Linked DNA regions of Homo sapiens: region 1 is linked to region 2. The links are contacts of gene promoters, found by promoter capture Hi-C in human tissues and cell types (Jung and others, 2019). All regions are on one chromosome and are shown on one strand. The core of a region is centred on a gene start or on the middle of the fragment in contact, and the rest is flanking DNA. Distances in the headings are between cores, read along the strand shown. Region 1 overlaps ZC3H3 (zinc finger CCCH-type containing 3). Region 2 holds the start of MAFA (MAF bZIP transcription factor A).

Evidence for each region. The method cuts DNA at HindIII sites, captures the fragments that hold promoters and counts their contacts. A contact is called where the count stands out against the background at its distance.
Region 1: a contact is called between a fragment that was not itself captured here and the fragment with the promoter of MAFA in region 2, in 1 of the 25 tissues and cell types used here (IMR-90 fibroblasts).

What each region holds. Positions count from the first base shown.
Region 1 is chr8:143,482,921-143,488,486 of GRCh38, forward strand. All of the region lies in intron 4 of ZC3H3 (zinc finger CCCH-type containing 3), which reads right to left. Among named protein-coding and RNA genes, the nearest start is that of SNORD149, 21 kb to the right of the region's middle. RefSeq lists enhancers at 4,860-5,397, 5,398-5,566. The HindIII fragment of the contact is 3,349 bases long and covers 855-4,203 here.
Region 2 is chr8:143,429,229-143,435,094 of GRCh38, forward strand. MAFA (MAF bZIP transcription factor A) reads right to left here and starts at 1,504. Exons shown (of 1, transcript NM_201589.4): 1 at 1-1,504. The coding sequence starts at 1,178. The coding sequence ends at 117. RefSeq lists a silencer at 1,421-1,860. The HindIII fragment of the contact is 28,870 bases long and covers 1-5,866 here.

The DNA of each region.
Region 1 (5,566 bases), core at 1,279-3,778, 55 kb after region 2:
ACACGACCTCAGGGCCTTCTAGGCCGGGGTTGTGTCTGTGTGTGGGCCGGGGACCCAGCAGCCCCTGGCCAGGCCGCCCAGGCCAGTGGCAACGTGCAGTAAACAGGCAGTCCAGCTGAGACACAGAGAAAACAACCGGAGAAGCATTTTCAGGAAATGGAGCACAATTTTTCGAAGCTTGGAGCCCGAGCGGGGAGTGCGAAGTCAGCAGAAGAGGAGCGGCCGGGGGGAGGCGGCGCCGCAGCGAATCCCCAAGTAGGTCAGGCAGAGCTGCGCCATGACAGGCACTAAACTGCTTAAGTGGGGCTTTCCACTGGAAACGCTGACACCCCCATCACCGTGCTGGCTCGGGAGGGCGAGCATGCATGTGTGTCCATGCGTGTGCGCGTGTGGGGCTGGCTGGAAGCCTCCCTCCCGGTTTCTCCTGGTGCTGAGCCACTGCGGCCCCCGAATGGGTTGGCCAGGCTACATGGGGCCCTTGGCTGGAGAGGCCCAGCCCGTGAGGCTGGGGCAATGCAGGGGAGGTGGTTCTACTGGACAGACACTCACAGAATGTCCTGAGTTCCGGAGGAGGAAGACAGAGTCCCTCATGGGAGGGGCCCAAGCTGGGCCGGCAGGGAGGGGCGCTCAGGCCAGACAGAGCAGAGGCGTGCAGTGGGGGTGCTAGGCGGGCTCCCGGCTCCTGGACCCTGCCCCCACGATCTCAGGGGCAGGGCTAAATGCTCAAGGGCCTGTGGCTGCCAGGGCTGAAATCTGACTACGTGGTGGCCACGCAGGCCTCACGATGGCTATGGCCACCTCATCTCACAGAAAGAACCCTCTTCTAACTTACTCCTCACAAGTCTGGCCCCCTATCCTCCAAACCCCTATACCCAGACCGTGGGGCCCTCACCAGCTCCAAGGGGCCTCCAGGTACCTGGGGCAGTAGCTGCTGTTCAGCAGGGGCTCCGGCACCATGGCCAGATGGGCTCTCTAGTCCCGCTGTCACCCCCACAGCATCTACCTCCCAGTATGGGGGCCTGCAGAGACCGTCCAGCCGCTTGGCTTTCCAGGATACACCTTCAGCAGGCAGGCAGGGTTACAGGCCTGGGTGGGAGCTGAGAGCCCTGCACCAGCGGCCAGGGGCGCCATGAGGGGAAAGAGCCATGCAGCCTTAGGGACAGCAGCCTTGTTTGGGGGCCCCTGAGGACAGGGACAGCCTTGAGTGCGACTGGTCCAGCTGAGGCTGAGCACGGCTGGCTCCCCCGGCCCCTGGGCTGACTCGTGGGGTGGAGGCTCTGTTGTGACATCTGAGGACTTCCTCACTGGGCACTGGTCCTTCCGAGGGCCATCCCTGCCCCGTCTCACCCCAGTAATGAATAAGAAGGATTCGGAGGCGCCTCTGCAGCCTGGCTGGGTGGCAGGGGGCAATACTAATGACACTGCCTCCGTTACAAACGTCGTGCTCCATTATGAGGGGCTGGGACTATTTTATGTATTTTATGTGCTCACATCTATTCAATTGGTATTTCGATCAATGGATGCATTACAAGCTTTCCCTTTAAGAGCCTAATAAACAACAAGATGGAAAGTAAAATTCTCCATAAAATGACACTTTTAAAAATCCATTTCAGCTGAAGCTATTGGTGTTTTGTATGTCAGCTGCAAAAAAACAAGTATTAGTGGGACTTCATGGCCCCGGAGTGCCGAGTTCAGCTCGTCCGGCAGAGGTGCCAGGCGGCCAGGTGCAGCTGTCCTTGGCGGGCCCGCGACCCTCTGCACCTGTGCCACCCTTTGGGCTGGGTCATCGGCCCAGGACCCACTCTGTCTGTGCCAGCTACTGAGGGGCAGGCTGGCCAGGAATCCTGCCTAGGCCCTCAAGGACCCCTCAGGTCACTGCTGTCTAAAGAGACTCACAGCAGACATCCCCCCACTCCCAGGCCCTGGGACAGCCCCTCCGAAGACCACACAGCAAATCCGGCTCAGCTCCCTGGAAAGGCGTGGTGACCTCAGCAAACTTCATGCGGCCCTTGCAAGGACAGTGGTATCTGCAAAAACCACGGGAAAACCACAATAAAAACCCACTCACTTCAGAGGGGTAACCAGAACTGATTATGAAGCAAAGATGTGTGAAAACCAAAGCCCTGCAAGACAGTGGCAAACACCAGTTGGAACATACAAAGAAGAGAAGCCAGAAACACTCTCAAATAACTGAGGAAAAATTCTACAGCAGGGGCGCCGGGCCAACATGTGGAAGTTATGGAGCATGAGTCCCCCTGGTGCTGAGAACAGGAGGGAGGCAGGCGGGGCCAGGGATCTGAAGTGTTTGTTGTGTGTGTGGCTGAAATCCTAAGAAGAAGAAAATGCAAATCTATGATTTGGAGGCTGGTTCCTTGGTGAGGCCGAGAACCCGGTCCAGTGTTTCTAAGGTGGTCTGGAAGAGTAAGCATTCAGGAATAACGAAGGGCACAGACAAGTGGGTCAACAGTGAGGATGGAGAGTCTGGGAACAGCCCATACATCTGCTCACCCGAGTGACGCAGGCGCCCCTGCACCTGAGTGGGTCAGGATCTCATTTCAATACATGTGTCTCCATGGGGAGACAAAAGGACTCTGGCCCCTACCTCAGACCACAGGTAAAAATTAATTCAAGAAGCCTCAGGCTTAAAATATAAAAGCTAAAATAGCCAAGCTTCTAGAAGAAAACATGAATGTGGGATAGACAAATATTTCTTAAACAGGACACAAAGAGCACTACTCATAAAAGGCTAAAAAACCAGATGCCGTGGAAGAGCAGGTCCCTCGCTGTAAGCAGACGTGTGGGGCGGAAAACATCCACAACAAAAACAAACTCCCACAAATCAGCCAAAAGGCAAATCACACAAAAACAGGCCAACACCCAAAGAGGCCCTTTACAGTAAAGAAGGGCACCACCAGGAGACCTGAGTGAAGAAAAAGATGCCCAGCAATGCCAGCCAGCGGGATGGGCGTGAGGCCCCACACCCCCCAGCATGGCAAGAACAGGAGACACGGGCCTGAGAATCCTGGCCAAGGCCACGGGCCAGCCACAATGCTCACATGCTGCTGCTGGCAGGCTGGGACAGCTACCTGGGACAGCTTCCAAAGCTCAGTGTCCATCACCCTCTGAGGCAGCAACTCCACACAAACGAGGGCTACCAGCACCCAGAGACACACCCAAGACAGCAGCTTCATAACTGGCAAGGATGGGAGAGACTCCAGATACCCACCCATCAACTGCAAGATGGACACACATGGCGTATCCATATCACAGAACACCACACGGCAGGGAAAAAGAATGAGTTCCCGCCAGGCGCGGCAATGTAGCGGAGTGAGAAACGTGGGCGCCTACGGCTGCCTGGCTGCTGCCATGGAATGCTCTGCAGTGGGCGGCTACGACAACAGAAACACACTTTCTCACAAGGCTGGGGCCGCACCGAGGCTCTGGCAAGGCTGGTTTCTGGTGAGGTCTCCCTTCCTGGCTTGTACTGTCCTCCCGTGGCTTTTCCTCTGGGCATGTGCCCCTGGTGGCACTTTTTATTCTTGTAAGGACATTAGTCCTAGTGGATCAGGGCCAAACACGTATAATCCCATTTAACCTCAATTACCTGTTTGAAGACCCCATCCCCAAACGTAGTCACATTGGGGGTTAGGGTTTCCATCTATGAACTTGGTGGGGGACACAATTCAGTCCATGAAAAGTGATGAACAAAAGAAGTCAGACACAGAATGGCACCCGCTACATGACCCCACCACCAAGAAGCTCACACACAAAACAGCACCTGCTCCACAACCCCACCACCACGAAGCTCACACACAAAACAGCACCCGCTACACGACCCCATCACCACGAAGCTCACACACAGAACAGCACCCGCTACACGACCCCATCACCACGAAGCTCAGACACAGAACAGCACCCGCTACACGGCCCCACCACCACGAAGCTCAGACACAGAACAGCACCCGCTACACGGCCCCACCACCACGAAGCTCAGACACAGAACAGCACCCGCTACACGGCCCCACCACCACGAAGCTCAGACACAGAACAGCACCCGCTACACGGCCCCATCACCACGAAGCTCACACACAGAACAGCACCCGCTACACGACCCCACCACCACGAAGCTCAGACACAGAACAGCACCCGCTACACGGCCCCACCACCACGAAGCTCAGACACAGAACAGCACCCGCTACACGGCCCCACCACCACGAAGCTCAGACACAGAACAGCACCCGCTACACGGCCCCACCACCACGAAGCTCACACACAGAACAGCACCCGCTACACGGCCCCACCACCACGAAGCTCACACACAGAACAGCACCCGCTACACGGCCCCACCACCACGAAGCTCAGACACACAACAGCACCCGCTACACGGCCCCATCACCACGAAGCTCACACACAGAACAGCACCCGCTACACGGCCCCATCACCACGAAGCTCACACACAGAACAGCACCCGCTACACGGCCCCACCACCACGAAGCTCACACACAGAACAGCACCCGCTACACGGCCCCACCACCACGAAGCTCAGACACAGAACAGCACCCGCTACACGGCCCCATCACCACGAAGCTCACACACAGAACAGCACCCGCTACACGGCCCCATCACCACGAAGCTCACACACAGAACAGCACCCGCTACACGGCCCCACCACCACGAAGCTCAGACACAGAACAGCACCCGCTACACGACCCCACCACCACGAAGCTCACACACAGAACAGCACCCGCTACACGACCCCATCACCACGAAGCTCACACACAGAACAGCACCCGCTACACTGCCCCATCACCACGAAGCTCAGACACAGAACAGCACCCGCTACACGGCCCCATCACCACGAAGCTCAGACACAGAACAGCACCCGCTACACGGCCCCATCACCACGAAGCTCAGACACAGAACAGCACCCGCTCCACGGCCCCATCACCACGAAGCTCACACACAGAACAGCACCCGCTCCACGACCCCATCACCACGAAGCTCACACACAGAACAGCACCCGCTACACAGCCCCATCACCACGAAGCTCAGACACAGAACAGCACCCGCTACACGGCCCCATCACCACGAAGCTCAGACACAGAACAGCACCCGCTACACGGCCCCATCACCACGAAGCTCACACACAGAACAGCACCCGCTACACGGCCCCATCACCACGAAGCTCACACACAGAACAGCACCCGCTCCACGACCCCATCACCACGAAGCTCACACACAGAACAGCACCCGCTCCACGACCCCATCACCACGAAGCTCACACACAGAACAGCACCCGCTACACAGCCCCATCACCACGAAGCTCAGACACAGAACAGCACCCGCTACACGGCCCCATCACCACGAAGCTCAGACACAGAACAGCACCCGCTACACGGCCCCATCACCACGAAGCTCACACACAGAACAGCACCCGCTACACGGCCCCATCACCACGAAGCTCACACACAGAACAGCACCCGCTACACGGCCCCATCACCACGAAGCTCACACACAGAACAGCACCCGCTCCACGACCCCATCACCACGAAGCTCAGACACAGAA
Region 2 (5,866 bases), core at 254-2,753:
CACGGCCGGGCCGGGCCTGGTGTCCACGTCCTGTACCGCGGAGTCCGAGCCGAGGCCCCGAGAGGCCTGCGCGAACTTGTCCCCGGCGACGGCGGCGCGGGCTCGGGGTCCGGCGCCTACAGGAAGAAGTCGGCCGTGCCCTTGGCCCCGCCGGGACCGGCCTGCGGCGGCGAAGGCTCCCGCGGGAAACCGGCCCCGCCCGCGCTCCCGGGGCCGCCCCGGCCCGCCAGCTTCTCGTATTTCTCCTTGTACAGGTCCCGCTCTTTGGCCAGGCGCCCCACCTCCAGCTTCAGCTGCTCCACCTGGCTCTGGAGTTGGCACTTCTCGCTCTCCAGAATGTGCCGCTGCTGCACCCGCTTGAAGCGGCAGGACTGCGCGTAGCCGCGGTTCTTGAGCGTGCGCCGCTTCTGCTTGAGCCGGATGACCTCCTCCTTGCTGAAGCCGCGGAGCTGCCGGTTCAGCTCGCGCACCGACATGGACACCAGCTGGTCGTCGGAGAAGCGCTCCTCCAGGCGCACGTGGTGGCCCGCGCCACCGCCGTGTCCCGCGCCGCCATGGTGGTGGTGGTGGTGGTGGTGGTGGTGGGCGGCGTGGTGATGGTGGGCGGCGTGGTGCGCGCCGTGGTGGTGGCCGGCGCCCATGTCGTCCGCTCCGCCGCCGCCCGCGAAGCCCGGGCCGCGGAAAGCCTCGTAGGCTGCGGCGGCCGCCGGGTGGTGCGCGCCGTGGTGCGCGCCGTGGTGGCCGCTGCCGATGAGCGCCTCCACCGCGTCCTCGGGCGTCAGGTTGAGCGCCTCGGGGTTGAGGTGATGCTGGTAGCCGCTCATCCAGTACAGATCCTCCAGCGCCGGCTTCCCCGAGGTGCCCCCGACGGCGCCGGGGCCCCCGCTCGGCGGCCCGGGGGCGCCCCCGGCCTGAGACGAGCCGCCGCCGCCCCCCGCGCCGCCGCCGCCGCCGGTGCCCGGGCTGGGCGCGCAGAAGCTGGGCGAGGAGGGCACGGAGGAGCAGGGCGTGCTGAGCGGCGTCGAGGACAGCGAGCCTGGCGGCAGGCGGTGGCAGAAGCGCTCGGCCTCGGGAGGCTCCTTCTTCACCTCGAACTTCATCAGGTCGAAGTCGTTGACGTACTCGATGGCCAGCGGGCTGCTGGGCAGCTCGGCGCCCATCGCCAGCTCCGCGGCCATCGCCCGGGGCCCGCGCCCGGCCGCGCCCCGACGGGCGGCGTGGGAGTGGGGGGGGAGCTGCAGGCCTCTCCCCCCCCTGCTCCCCGCGGGCGGCGGTCCCGGCGGGGGCGGGGGGGCGCCGGCGCGGGGCGGCGGCGCCGAGGGGCGCAGGGAAAAGTTTCACGTGGTCAACTCCGGGGCGGCGCGCTAGGGGCACCGCTGGCCAGGTGTCTCGGGCGACCCCGGGCCCGCGTCGCCGCCTCCTCCCCGCGGCCGCCGCCTCGGGCTGCTCCGGGACCGCTCCCGCGCCCCACCCGCGCCGCCGGCCGGCCCCGCCTCCCACGGCTAAACGCGAAGCCGCGCGCGCCCCTTTATAGAGCCGGGTGCCTGGGCCCGCCTCCCCGGGAGGGGCGCGCGCCCCCGGGCCAATCGGAGCCCCAGCCCCGCCGCCCTCATTTGCTTATCCCCATGGCAACTCAGAGCCCAGCTGTCAATCTCCTGCGGGAAACAGCTGTGGGAAGAGGTAGGGACGGGCCGCCGGCTAGAGGAGAGGGCAGGGCCCTCTGGTGGCCATCACGGGGCACTGCACGGGCAGAGGGCGCGCCGCCTCAGGGGACAACTGCCGTCTCCAGGGGCCTCAGCTCCCACACCCGGCGGCCGGAGAGTCCGGGGAAGCAGACGGGGACCGCGCCCGGGGACCCCCTCGGGGCCTCGTCCGCCTCGGGCCACGCGGCGGGACGCCCCCTCGGCCCCCTGGGTTTGCGGCCGGGCCTGGGGGCCGGGGGCAGCTCCGCTAGCGGCGGCGGCGGCGGCAGCGGGACCTCCGGGCCTCTGGACACGGGTGACACCGCGCGGCCCGGCAGAGCGCGGCGCGCTGAGCCGGTTATTTTTAGCCCGCGGCTCAGACGCGTTCAGGAATTTGGTCAACAAAGTTGCCGGCACCTCCGGGCACCGGGAAGCACGGGGCGGGCGGAGGGGGACACACGCGTGCGGGGCGGCGCGAGGGGCCGGGGACGGAGGGCCGGCTTGTGGGGGGCCGCGGAGAGCGCAGGACTGTGGGGGTCGCGGGACAACGCGGGTGGGTGCGAGCGGCGGGGGCGGGGCCCACGGGCTGGCAGCCCCTCAGGGCGTTAGGAATCCCCGCCCAAGCGGCCACCACTGCCCACTTTCGCCCCCCGCAGGGCTGGAGGCGCCTTGCTGGGCCTGGAGTGGGACGGGGGGTAACTGAGACGGGAAGGCGGGGATTTCCACCTGGCGGCCGTGCACCTGCTGGGAGGAGACGGCTCCGGTTCACGGGGCAAAGGAGGTGACGATGGGCGGTGGGCCTGTGACCCCAGGTCCCCGACACCAGCGAGCCGGGTGATGGGAGGGTTGCGCCAGGAGTTACAAGGCCGGTGACCCGAAGTGGGCCTATTGTTTCTTCTCGAAATTCTCTCCATTGCTGTTCTATGACTTCAGCAATTTAAAAAAAAAAAAAAAAAGTCTAAAATGTAACCACCTGTGTAGAGAAAAAAAGCCTGGAAGGAGTTGCGCAGAGGCCACAGGGAGGCCTGGTCACGGCGCCGCAGATTTAGTACCAGGCTCTCACCTCCTTCCCTCTACAAAGATCTATTGTTTTGTAACAAGAAGACTGTCATGAAGTGAGGACTGAACATCTGCTTCCTAAGGTGTCTCGGGGTGTCCCTGGCCCTTCCCTGGGCCCTCCCACTCCTCTGGGCAGAGCTGGGACTGCTGATTTGGGAAGACCAGGCCTTCCTCCCCGCAAGGGAGGGCCAAGGACAGCATGAGGACCCACCTGCAGGGACCCCTCTCCCCCGATCCTGTCCCAGAGGGGGCTCTGAGCTCCCCACCCTTCTACAGATGAAGAAATGAAGTGGGCATGCAGCAGAGCCAAGTCCCCACACTGGGTACCTGGACTTGAGACCACACGAGTGGTCAGCCAGCCAGGGGTGTGGGGTTTCCTTTATGGCACCCCGTGTTGAGAGGGAGGCCCGGGAAGGGAGGATGCCGCCGCGCAGTGGAGCTGGTGGTAGTCCAGGTTGTCTGCACCTGCAGCCCCAGGAGAGGCCTTGGGGCTACAGGGCCCTCCCACGGCCCCTCCAAGGGTCTAGCAGCATTTCTGGGTACCACACCCTGGAGGCCCTGGGGCACACTGGAAAGGGGGTTGAGGAGGAAAGAGAGAGTGTTTGCACCGGGCTGTGTCCCCACTGTCCCCCCCTCCCGCCCATCGCACTGTGGCTCCTGCCAGGCCAAGGAGACCAGGAGAGGGTGTTTGGTCACCAGCCCAGGAGGACTCCAGCACACCCGTGGGAATGAAGGAGACGCCTGACCCCAGGCTGTTGCAGTGGGAACCTTCCCCGGGGCCACAGCTGTGACCTCAGGCTGAGGGACGCTGACCCCACAGCCATGCTTGGACTCAGTGGCACCCCCATCCCGCCACCACCCACAGGAAGCCTAAGTGCCTCATCTTGCTCTGAGAGGTGGGAGAAGGTGGTGGAGGCTGGGGTGGCCTCAAAGATTGACCCCAACCCATCCGCCCCAAGCCTGCCAAGCCCTCCTTGAGGCTTGGTGCTGTCACCACCAAGCCAGGATGGCTCCCTAGAATTCGCCTGTGCTCCGCTGTTCCCTGGGCTCCCAGAAGCGCTTTCCCTTCCCGCCAGCCTCCCAACCCAAGGGCTTCTCACACCCTCCAAACTTTCAGCATTTGGTCCTCACAGAATTCTGCAGGGGCAGTCTGTGTGGCTGGGTAACTCAATGCACCCAACAGGCTTCTCTTGAGCACCTAGAGTACGTCAGCCAGCCTGCCTAGGGGGCACATCCCATCAGGGAGGTGGCCAGGGTCCCTTGTTGAGAAGCCCCCTGGAGCTTGATGGCACAAGTATTATTTCATCCATGGGCTCTGTAAGGGGGAGATGTGTCCTGGGAATAGGGGCACAGCTTGCCTCTGGTCCTGACAGCTGGGAGGACTTGGGGGTTGGGGTAACGGGACAGCTGATGGATGGTGCCACTGGGCAGGGTCTTCACACCCAGGCCTGGCAGATGGTGAGAGCTGTCGGCCAAAACAGCTGCTTGTGACACCTCCACAGGGCTGCTCCCTGCAGCTGGTTGGGCTTCCTCACAGCATGGCTGCTGGTTCCCAGTGTGTGCATCCGAGGAAGGTGGAGGGGTGCATGTGCCTCAGAACACTGCACCATGCTGGTGGTCCTCGTGTGTAGAGGTCGGCCACCCCCCTGGGCAGGGGTACGGACACTGCCTGTGTAGGTCATGTGAGGAAGGGGCCTGTGGGCTGAGATGCACTGTTGTAGTGTTTTTGGAAAATACAGTCTGCCGAGTGGGCCTCAGAGAACAGAAAATCAGCCATAAAAATAGTAAGTAAAATGAGGCCGGACACAGTGGCTCATGCCTGTAATCCCAGCACTTTGGGAGGCCGAGGTGGGCAGATCACAAGGTCAGGATTTTGAGACCAGCCTGGCCAACCTGGCAAGAGCCCGTCTCTACTTAAAAAATACAAAAATTAGCCGGGCGTGGTGGTGCACACCTGTGGTCCCAGCTACTTGGGAGGCTGAGGCAGGAGAATCGCTTGAACCCGGGAGGCGGAGGTTGCAGTGAGCCGAGATCACGCCAGTGCACTTCAGCCTGGCCAACAGAGTGATTCTGTCTCAAATAATAATAATGAGTAAAATGATAGTGGATTTGCCTTCTATTGCTGTCTCACCAATTACCACACGTTTAGTAACTTAACACACATTTATGGTCTTGTGGCTTCTGTGAGCCAGGTGTCCAGGCAGGGCTTAGCAGGAGCCCCCGTCCAGGGTGCAGTCTAGGAGGTGGCCGGGCTACAGTTTCAACGTGGGACGAGAAGGGCTGTGCCACCAGGCATCGTCAGGCTGTTGGCAGAATTATTTCCTTAAATCTGTACAACTGAGGACCGGCTTCTTGCTGGCTGGAGGCTGGAGGCCACCCTGAGCTCCTCACCAGGTGCAGCCCCAGCACAGGCCCTGACGCCTCGGGCCAGCAGGGAGAGGCTCTCAGCGGGGCGTAAGGTGCCGTGATCACAGCTGCGGCATCTGGCCACCCTCCAGGAGTCTGTCGGAGGAAAGGGGTCACCCAAGGGTGGGAACGCTGGGCAGGGGGGTGCGTCATGAGGCTACCTCAGGGCCTGTCCCCCACACTCGTTTGTGAGAAGGCGGAAGCTTGGCTAGGTGGGGAGTTCTGGGTTGGTGGGGTTGGGGGGCCTCACAGACACCTGAGCAGATGGAGGGGCAAGCCCTTCAGGCCGGGGAGCAGGGAGCCCAGAGCCACTGCCTGGGAGGGGCCTGGAAGGGCCCAGGGTGGCTGGGTCAAGATCAGAGCCCATGGGGGCTGGTGTAGGGCCCAGGAAGTCATCGTGGGCCCCCAGAGGGCTCTGGGTGGAGGGAAACCTGGTACGAGGAGGGACAGGGAGGTTGGGGTGCTCACCAGCTGAACCCCACAGCTCCCTCTGCTGTCCACCATGGGACCCCACGCAGTCTGCTGTCTGCTGGGGCCCTGAGCTCATGCATTTTACTGCAGGGAGGGGCCTGAGGGGACCCTCCTGGCACGGCTCCTCCACCCCTGCCAGAGCACAGCTGCGCAGGAGGGCTGAGCTAACCCTGCCAGGCCATGCGTGGACCTCCTGAACCTCACCCTGCTGCCCCAAGAGTAAGTGCTCGGAACTGCGTAGAGCCTCG